Linked DNA regions of Homo sapiens: regions 2 and 3 are each linked to region 1. The links are contacts of gene promoters, found by promoter capture Hi-C in human tissues and cell types (Jung and others, 2019). All regions are on one chromosome and are shown on one strand. The core of a region is centred on a gene start or on the middle of the fragment in contact, and the rest is flanking DNA. Distances in the headings are between cores, read along the strand shown. Region 1 holds the start of FRMD5 (FERM domain containing 5). Region 2 overlaps FRMD5 (FERM domain containing 5). Region 3 has its middle 45 kb from the start of GOLM2.

Region 1 (2,801 bases), core at 165-2,664:
GAAAATATTGGAATCCAAAGACACTAGGGAAGAAGCATACTTTAAAGGCGGGATAGTTTTCTAGGCTAATGTAGAGTTTCATTTTTGTTACACATTATACCTATAAACAAGAACAGTGCAAATGAAAGTAATAGGAAATTATGCCTATTTCATTATTTTAAATTAATATATTTATTACAGCATTAATGTTCTATGTTGACACGATTATTTTTTTTTTTTGAGACGGTGGCTTGCTCTTGTCCCCCAGGCTGGAGTGCAATGGCCGTGATCTTGGTTCACTGCAACCTCTGCCTCCTGGGTTCAAGCGATTCTCCTGCCTCAGCCTCCCGAGTAGCTGGGATTACAGGTGCGTGCTACCATGCACGGCTAATTTTTTTGTATTTTTAGTAGAGACGGGGATTCACCATGTTGGTCAGGCTGGTTTCGAACTCCTGACATCAGGTGATCCGCCCGCCTCGGCCTCCCAAAGTGCTGGGATTACAGGCTTGAGCCACTGCGCCCGGCCGACATAATTATTTTATAACATTTCCTCACATCAAAAATCTTTGAGGGAGAATATCTCTTATTGAAGTTCTGGTAAAAAACCTTGAAGTCTGTAAATTTGGGGTGACAAAGAGAAGGAGACAATTCTTTGTGATGTATACCTCCTGACATACTATGTTGTTCTATTGAGAAAGTCTGAAGACATAATTTCCAGTTCTAAAAGTGCAAGGAGAAGATTCATTGCTTCCTCTGCTCCCTACCAGCTGAAGGAGCAGTCTCCTTTTGTCTTCTGAAATAAAAAGGAGGCAAAGGGTGTTAGAGTGGAGGGTTTTTTAGGGGATTAAACCTGGGTACTTCAGAACCTCTGAGGTCCCTTTAGCTTTTATTTAAGTAGCTCCTGTTTCCCAAAATAAGAGGGCTGGAGCACAGAGGCCAGACGGGCCAACTTAGGGTACAGCACAGGTCGGGGGCAGTCGCCCTATCTGGAGCGAGAGGTATCCGCATTCTGCAGGTGCAGGGACTGTGATCCAGCACCCTGCCGCCTCCTCGCTCCGGCTCCCAAGAGGGCGGGAACCGCGGTGTTGCAGGGTGCGAGGCTTGGCTTCGGAAACGCAGATCAAGTGTATTTCAGGCGGCAGACATCAATCCAGTTGGGTGCTCACACCTGGCCCGGGGGAGGGGAAACAGCATCCATAGGAACCACGGGGCGGAGAGGAACCCCTCGTTTGGGACGCTAGAGGGCTGCTCCGGCTTGACTAGGTCCGACTGCTTTTCTGTGATTGCTTCTTTATCCCGCCCATCATCCCAGTACTCTATCTCGATTGGCTTTTCGGTCTGCCACTCGGTTCCGCCGCGCTGACCCCCATTGGCCCCCTCCAGTTGAGGCCCCGCCCCGCGAGCTGGGCACGGGCACTGGGGCGCCGAGGAGACAGAGCCCGGCGCTTGATCTGGGCTGGGGGGAGGCGGTGGCGGCTGAGGGAAGGAGGAGGATAAGGAGGAGGAACGAGGCCAGCAGGAGGCAACGGCAGCGACGGGGCCGGGGTGATGGTGCAGGTGCCTGGGGTCGGTGCGGAGCTGCCGGGCTGAGGGACGCCTGGTCCAGGGTCCGCAGCGCCGCCGCGTCGCTCCCGGGCGGGCGGGCGGGAAGATGCTGAGCAGGTTGATGAGCGGCAGCAGCAGGAGCCTGGAGCGCGAGTACAGCTGCACCGTGCGGCTGCTGGACGACAGCGAGTACACCTGCACCATCCAGGTCAGCGCCGCGCCGCCCCGCCCCGCCCGCGGGACCCCCTTGTCCCCCAAGTCTGGTCAACTTGGCCGGCGGCGGCCGCCGCCCAGGGGTCGCCCCAGCCCCAGCGCCGTGCTTTGTCCGTTCCTGGTTGCGGCGGACCGCCCTAGTGCAGGGCGTCTTCACCGGAGCCCCTGCCGGAGCCCTGGCACCCGGTGTGTCACCGCCGCCGCGGGGCGAGTCTCCGCGTCCCACACCCCTAAGTCCTACCCTGCTCTCCCTGGGTGAGGGCGCCCCGTCCTGGTTCCTCGAGCCCGCCCGAGTAAGGTGCACCTTTCCGGGGCGCCCGGAGGGAGGCGGGTAGGGCGGTAGGCTCCTAGCCCGGCCGCCCCGTCGGGGGCGCAGGCTTTGGCTCTCTGCCCGGGCAAGGACGTATGGCTGGCTTTTCTTATCTTTCTTGGGTTGGAAGGATAATGGTTTATGTCATAATTCCTCCCCCCACCATTTGTGAGTCAGAGCTTTCAGAAGGTAGAACTGAACGCGCAGCCCATGCGGAGTGGCCTATTGAAGGAAGCCCAGTCCTCTGGGTTTTAGAGATTTAGGCCCCCTCCCGCCTTTTGATCCCCAAATTTTATTGTGTTGGGCGGTTCTAGGGGACGTGAGGTAAAGATTTAGCAACAAGTCCCAGCGATTTGGGGCTTGGAAGTGGCCAGGAAGAATCGGCGACTTAGGAAAAACGCCAACAATACGGTAATGCTCAACAGCATTTCTTTCAGAACCTGGTATTTTTGAAGGGATTTTTACAACCTCTTGCTCATGTTCCTTCGCTACTGCTGTGTGCACGTCAGGAGTAGTAGTCTTTCCCGGGAATGCAGTCACAGCCCTCTCTCCTCCCTTATGAAAAAGTCAGAGATTGAAAACATTGACAATGCTCCCGTGTTTAGTTCATCAGCCAGGAGGATCCTGCGCTCATCGCCGGAAGCTGCTCTTTGTGGAGAAGCTAATTGAGCTGGACCCAGAGGGGTCTCACCTGATCCTTTGCCTTTGCAGCAGGAAAACAGGAGGAGGCTTCTGGCTCAGATGTGACAGACAA
Region 2 (2,801 bases), core at 117-2,616, 43 kb after region 1:
AAGCAGTTTGTTGACCTTGGCCTTCCAAAGTGCTAGGACTACGGGTGTGAGCCATTGCACCCGTCAACATTTTTTCCCAAGTTTTAATTGTACTTAAAATTAATATAATGTAAAATTTACCATCTTAGCCATTTTTTTTTTAAGACTTGCCCTGTCGTCACCTAGGCTGGAGTGCAGTGGCGCCATCTTGGCTTACTGCAACCTCTACCTCCTGGGTTCAAGCAATTCTCCTGCCTCAGCCTCCTGAGTAGCTGGGATAGCAGGCACCTGCCATTATGCCCGGCTAATTTCTGAATTTTTGTAGAGACAGGGTTTCACCATGTTGGCCAGGCTGGTCTTGAACTCCTGACAGCAGGTGATTCACCCGCCTGGGCCTCCCAAAGTGCTGGGATTATGGGCGTGAGCCACCATGCCCGGCCTTAACCATTTTAAAATGTACAGTCCAGTCAGATGAAATACATTCATAATGTGCAACCATTACCACCATCCACCTCCACAGTCTTTTTCATCTGTAAAACTGAAACTCTATACCCTTTAAACAATAACTTCCCATTTCCCTATCCCCTCAACCCCTGGTAACCACCATTCTAGTATTCGTCTATACCTCATATAAATGGAATCATACAGTATTTGTCTTTTTGTGACTGGCTTATTTCACTTAGCATAGTTTTTTCAAGGTTTATTTATGTTAAAGCCTATGTCAGAGTTTCCTTCCTTTTAAAGTCTGAATAATCCTTCATTATATGTATATACCACATTTTGCTTATTCATTCATCTGTTGATGGACTTTTAGGTTGCCTCTACATTTTAGCTATTGTGAATAATGCTGCTGTGAACATGGATATACAAGTATCTCTTTGAGACCTTGTGTTCAGTTATTTTGAGTATATACCCACCCAGAGATAGAATTGCTGGACCATATGGTAATTATATTTTGAATTTTTTGAGGAAGTGCCATACTATTTTCTATAGTGGCTGTACCATTTTATAGTCCCACCAATAGTGCATAAGAGTTCCAGTTTCTCCACATCCTGTCCAGCATTTGTCTTCTCTTTTCTTGATGATAGGCATCTTAATGATGTGAGGAGGTATCTCATTGTAATTTTGATTTGCATTTCCTCAGTGATTAGTGATGTTGATCATCTTTTCATGTGCTTATTGGCCATTTGTATATCTTCTTTGAAGAAATGTCTATTCAAGATCTTTGCCCGTTTACTTTTTTTTTTAGAAAATATTTGCAGTACAGTTTAATAAAGAAGTCAGATCCACAATATATAAACAACTCCTGCAAAGCAATAAGAAAAAGATAAACAGCCAATTTTAACAGACAAAATATGTCATCAAGCACTTCACAAAAGACTATCTCCAGATGGTCAGTAAATGTATGTTCCATTATTGTTCATCAGGGAAGTGCAAGTAAAAATTGATGTGCAATATCAGTAGACATCCACCAGAGTGGTTAAAGTTAAAAAAAAATTAAGGCCAAGTGTTACCAGAGATTAGAGCAACTTAGCTCACAATCAAATCTGGTGGAGCTTTTTCCCATTTACTGAGGTAACTCAAGAATGCTGTTTGGTGGTTTCTAATAAAATTAAACATACGCTTATTCTGCAAGGCTTGTATGAGAATGTGTGTAGCAACTTTATAATTGTCCCAAACTGGAACAAACCAAATGTTCAGTAGGATTATGAATAAACAAATTGTGGCTTATTTATGTATTTGCACATTGGAGTAATACTACACAATAAGGTTAAAGAATTAAGTATTGATACATATAACAACCTAGATTTATCTTTAAAAATTGAGCAAAAGAAGGGAGACACAAAAGATGTACAATAGTGTTTACTGCTGCAGGTTTTTGACTGGAAAAGGGGAAAATATAGTTTTGTTTTGTTTTTTGGGACAGTCTCCCTCTATCACCCAGGCTGGAGTACAGTGGCGCAATCTCAGCTCACTGCACCTGTGCCTCCCAGGTTCAAGCAATTCTCATGCCTCAGCCTCCTGAGTAGCTGGGACTACAGGCATGCGCCAGGACACCTGGCTAATTTTTGTATTTTTAGTAGAGAGGGGATTTTACCATGTTGGCCAGGCTGGTCTCGAACTCCTGACCTCAAGTGACCTGCCCACCGCGGCCTCCTAAAGTGCTGAGATTACAGTTGTGATCCACCGCGCCTGGCCTGGCCTTTGCCCATTTACTAATTGTGATTTTTGTTTGTTTGTTTTAGGAGTTTACTATATATTCCGGACATTAATCGCTTATCAGATATGTGATTTATAAAGATTTTCTCCCATTCTGTGGGTTGCCTTTTTACTCTGTTGATTTTGATGCACAAAATTTTTATAATTTTCATGAAGTCCAAACTTTTTTTTCTTTCCTTGCTTGTGCCTTTGTTCTCATATCCAGAAAATCATTGCCAAATCCAGTGTTGTGAAGCTTCTGTTTGTTCTAAGAGTTTTATAGTTTTAGGTTTTACATCTAGGTCTTTTAGCACTACTCTTTAATTTCTTTTAGCACTGTTTTGTAGTTTCATCCAATGAATCTTTTACCTCCTTGGTTAATTCCTATGTATTTTATTCTTTTTGATGCAATTATATATTGAATTGTTTTTGTACTTTTCTTTTCGGATTATTATTTGTTAGTATATAGTACCCAACTGATTTTTGTGTGTTAATTCTTTTTTCTTTCTTTCTTTCTTTTTTTTTTTTTTTGAGATGGAGTCTCGCTCTGTCACTTAGGCTGGAGTGCAGTGGCGCGATCTTGGCTCACTGCAAGCTCCACCTCCTGGGTTCACACCATTCTC
Region 3 (2,801 bases), core at 207-2,706, 48 kb before region 1:
ACAGACAGGGCCCCTTCTACGGTTTAGCAAATTTAAACTAGCCCAATAATTTATCATCAAATTTTTTGTGTATAGTAAACCCAAAATTTGGGCTAACACAATGATACCTCCAACTTCTGATTCTAGCCTCTCTCTGGGCCCTCTTCCCTCCTCCATACAGTCTTGCAGTGGCATTAGGACAGTTTATTTTAAAAGGATCTGTAATACTATCTAGAAAGCAAAGAATACAGACCAGGAACTCAAACTGATTTATCAGAGAGGGCCAGAGATTCTCCTCTCTCTCAACTCAGTTCTGTTCTCATAGGCTTTGCCCCTAGTTTTTATTATTTTCACCACAAACACTATAGGATTTGATCTTCAACTTCTCAGATTGTCTGTAATTGTCACATATCTGTCTTAGTCAGAAAAGTGACCTGTAGGCTGGGTGTAGTGGTTCATGCCTATAATTCCAGCACTTTGGGAGACTGAGGCGAGAGGATCTCTTGAGGCCAAGAGTTCAAGATCAGCCTGGGTAACATAGTGAGATTCCATCTCTACAAAAAATACAAAACTTAGCTGGGTGTGGTGACACGCGCCTGTAGTCCTATCTACTTGGGAAGCTAAGACGGGAGGATCACTTAAGCCCAGGAGTTCAGGGCTGCCACTGCACTCCAGCCTGGGCAATAGAGTGAGATCCTATCACTAAAAATAATTTTTTAAAAAGTGACCTATGGTTCACCCTTTCCTTAATTTCTATGGTTGTAGAACAGTAACCGGGCTGCACTATGACATTTCAGCACTAAGTGGAGCCAGACGCCCAACTGCCTTAAAATTTACAAATCAGCAGAAGAGTACAGCCTAGTTACCTGGAAAACCTGACTTGGCCATTGTGTTTACAGATGGACAGAGCTGGAGTTATATGGTACATCACATATATTTGAATGCCCAAGACTCAAGGAATAGATACCATGGAAATAATTACTTTAGCTCATCTCACATGGTTAAAGAAAACCTATCAAATAAACACAAACTAACCAAACTGGGTATTTTTTTGTTGCGGGGGGGGTGTTTGTTTGTTTGTTTTTGAGACAGGGTCTCTCTCTGTTGTCCAGGCTGGAGGGCAATGACACAATCTCGGCTCACTGCAACCTCCACCTGTGGGCTCAAGCAATCCTCCCACCTCAGCCTCCGGAGTAGCTGGGACCACAGGTGTATGCCACCATGCCCAGCTAATTTTTGTATTTTTTGTAGAGACAAGGTTTCACTATGTTACCCAGGCTAGTCTCAAACTCCTGAACTCAAGTGGTCTGCTTGCCTCAGCCTCCTAAAGTGCTGGGATTACAGGTGTGAGCCACTGTGCCTGGCCCCAAATTATTTTGTTATGTCATGATTCCCAACCCCTCTGCCCTTTGTTGCAAGCTTCTATAAGAAAGACATGTAGCCTCTGGTGGTTCAGATTCTGATCTGCAGATGAGAATGAGCCAATTTGGGAAAGAGCCCAGCCTAACAGAGGATTTGTGATAGCATTTGGGTGATGTTTTTGCAAGCAAATATGTGTTTGGCATAGGGACAGTTTTGCCCAGGGCAGAGTATTGAATTCTGAGAATAGGAGCCAGTTATGGGGTATGTATGTGTAGGAGGCCGATGGAGGGTTAATAGAGTCACAGATCATGGCAGTTGGGTAAAGGATGAGAAATTACTTAATGTTCAGGATCTATACCCTAGGGAAAAATAAAAAGAAATTACTTAATGGGTACAATATATGTTATTTGGGTGGTGAATACCCCGAAAATCCTGACCATTACAAAGTCTATGCATGTACTGAAATTACACTTATACCCCATGAACTTATGTAAATAAATTTTTTCTTTTTCTTTTTTTTTTGAGACAGAGTCTCATTCTGTCGCCCAGGCTGGAATGCAGTGGCTCGATCTCACCTCACTGCAACCTCCGCCTCCCAGGTTCAAGCAATTCCCTGCTTCAACCTCACGATTAGCCGGGATTACAGGCACCGGCCACCAAGCCCGGCTAATTTTTGTATTTTTAGTAGAGACGGGGTTTCACCATCTTGGCCAGGCTGGTCTTGAACTCCTGACCTCGTGATCCACCCACCTTGGCCTCCCAAAGTGCTGGGATTACAGGCATGAGCCACCGCACCCAGCCATAAATAAATAAATTTTTTCAAAACAAACAAACAACAGCAACAAAAAAAACCAGAGTCACAGATCATTCTTACCTAGAAACTCAGCACAGACTGAGCAAACCATTCAACTCTTGGGAGACCCTGAGATCCTAAGTATAAAAGATGAGCTAGGCCGGGCGTGGTGGCTCACGCCTCTAATCCCAGCACTTTGGGAGGCCAAGGCTGGCGGATCACGAGGTCAGGAGATCGAGACCATCCTGGCTAACACAGTGAAACCCCGCCTCTACTAAAAATACAAAAAAAAAAAAAAAGCCGGGTGTGGTGGTGGGTGCCTGTAGTCCCAGCTACTTGGGAGGCTGAGGCAGGAGAATGGTGTGGACCCAGGAGGCGGAGCTTGCAGTGAGCCGAGATCGCGCCACTGCATTCCAGCCTGGGCAACAAAGCCAGACTCTGTCTCAAAAAATAAATAAATAAATAAAAATAAAAAAGAGATGAGCTTCTGGCCCAGCACGGTGGCTCACGCCTGTAATCCCGCACTTTGGGAGGCCGAGGCAGGTGGATCATCTGAGATCAGGAGTTCAAGACCAGCCTGGCCAACATGGTGAAGCCCCGTCTCTACTAAAAGTAGAAAAATTAGCCAGGCATGGTGGCATGCGCTTGTACTCCCAGTTACTGGGGA

Evidence for each region. Contacts are between HindIII fragments. The study calls those that stand out against the background at their distance.
Region 2: a contact is called between a fragment that was not itself captured here and the fragment with the promoter of FRMD5 in region 1, in 1 of the 25 tissues and cell types used here (adrenal gland).
Region 3: a fragment that was not itself captured here is called in contact with the fragment with the promoter of FRMD5 in region 1 in 1 of the 25 tissues and cell types used here (adrenal gland).

What each region holds. Positions count from the first base shown.
Region 1 is chr15:44,193,884-44,196,684 of GRCh38, reverse strand. FRMD5 (FERM domain containing 5) reads left to right here and starts at 1,414. Exons shown (of 14, transcript NM_032892.5): 1 at 1,414-1,732. The coding sequence starts at 1,631. RefSeq lists enhancers at 914-1,013, 529-1,028, 1,029-1,530 and silencers at 1,864-1,913, 2,024-2,083. The HindIII fragment of the contact is 20,453 bases long and covers 1-2,801 here.
Region 2 is chr15:44,151,305-44,154,105 of GRCh38, reverse strand. The region is part of intron 1 of FRMD5 (FERM domain containing 5); the gene reads left to right. Among named protein-coding and RNA genes, the nearest start is that of FRMD5, 43 kb to the left of the region's middle. The HindIII fragment of the contact is 3,584 bases long and covers 1-2,801 here.
Region 3 is chr15:44,242,008-44,244,808 of GRCh38, reverse strand. No RefSeq gene overlaps it. Among named protein-coding and RNA genes, the nearest start is that of GOLM2, 45 kb to the left of the region's middle. The HindIII fragment of the contact is 7,356 bases long and covers 1-2,801 here.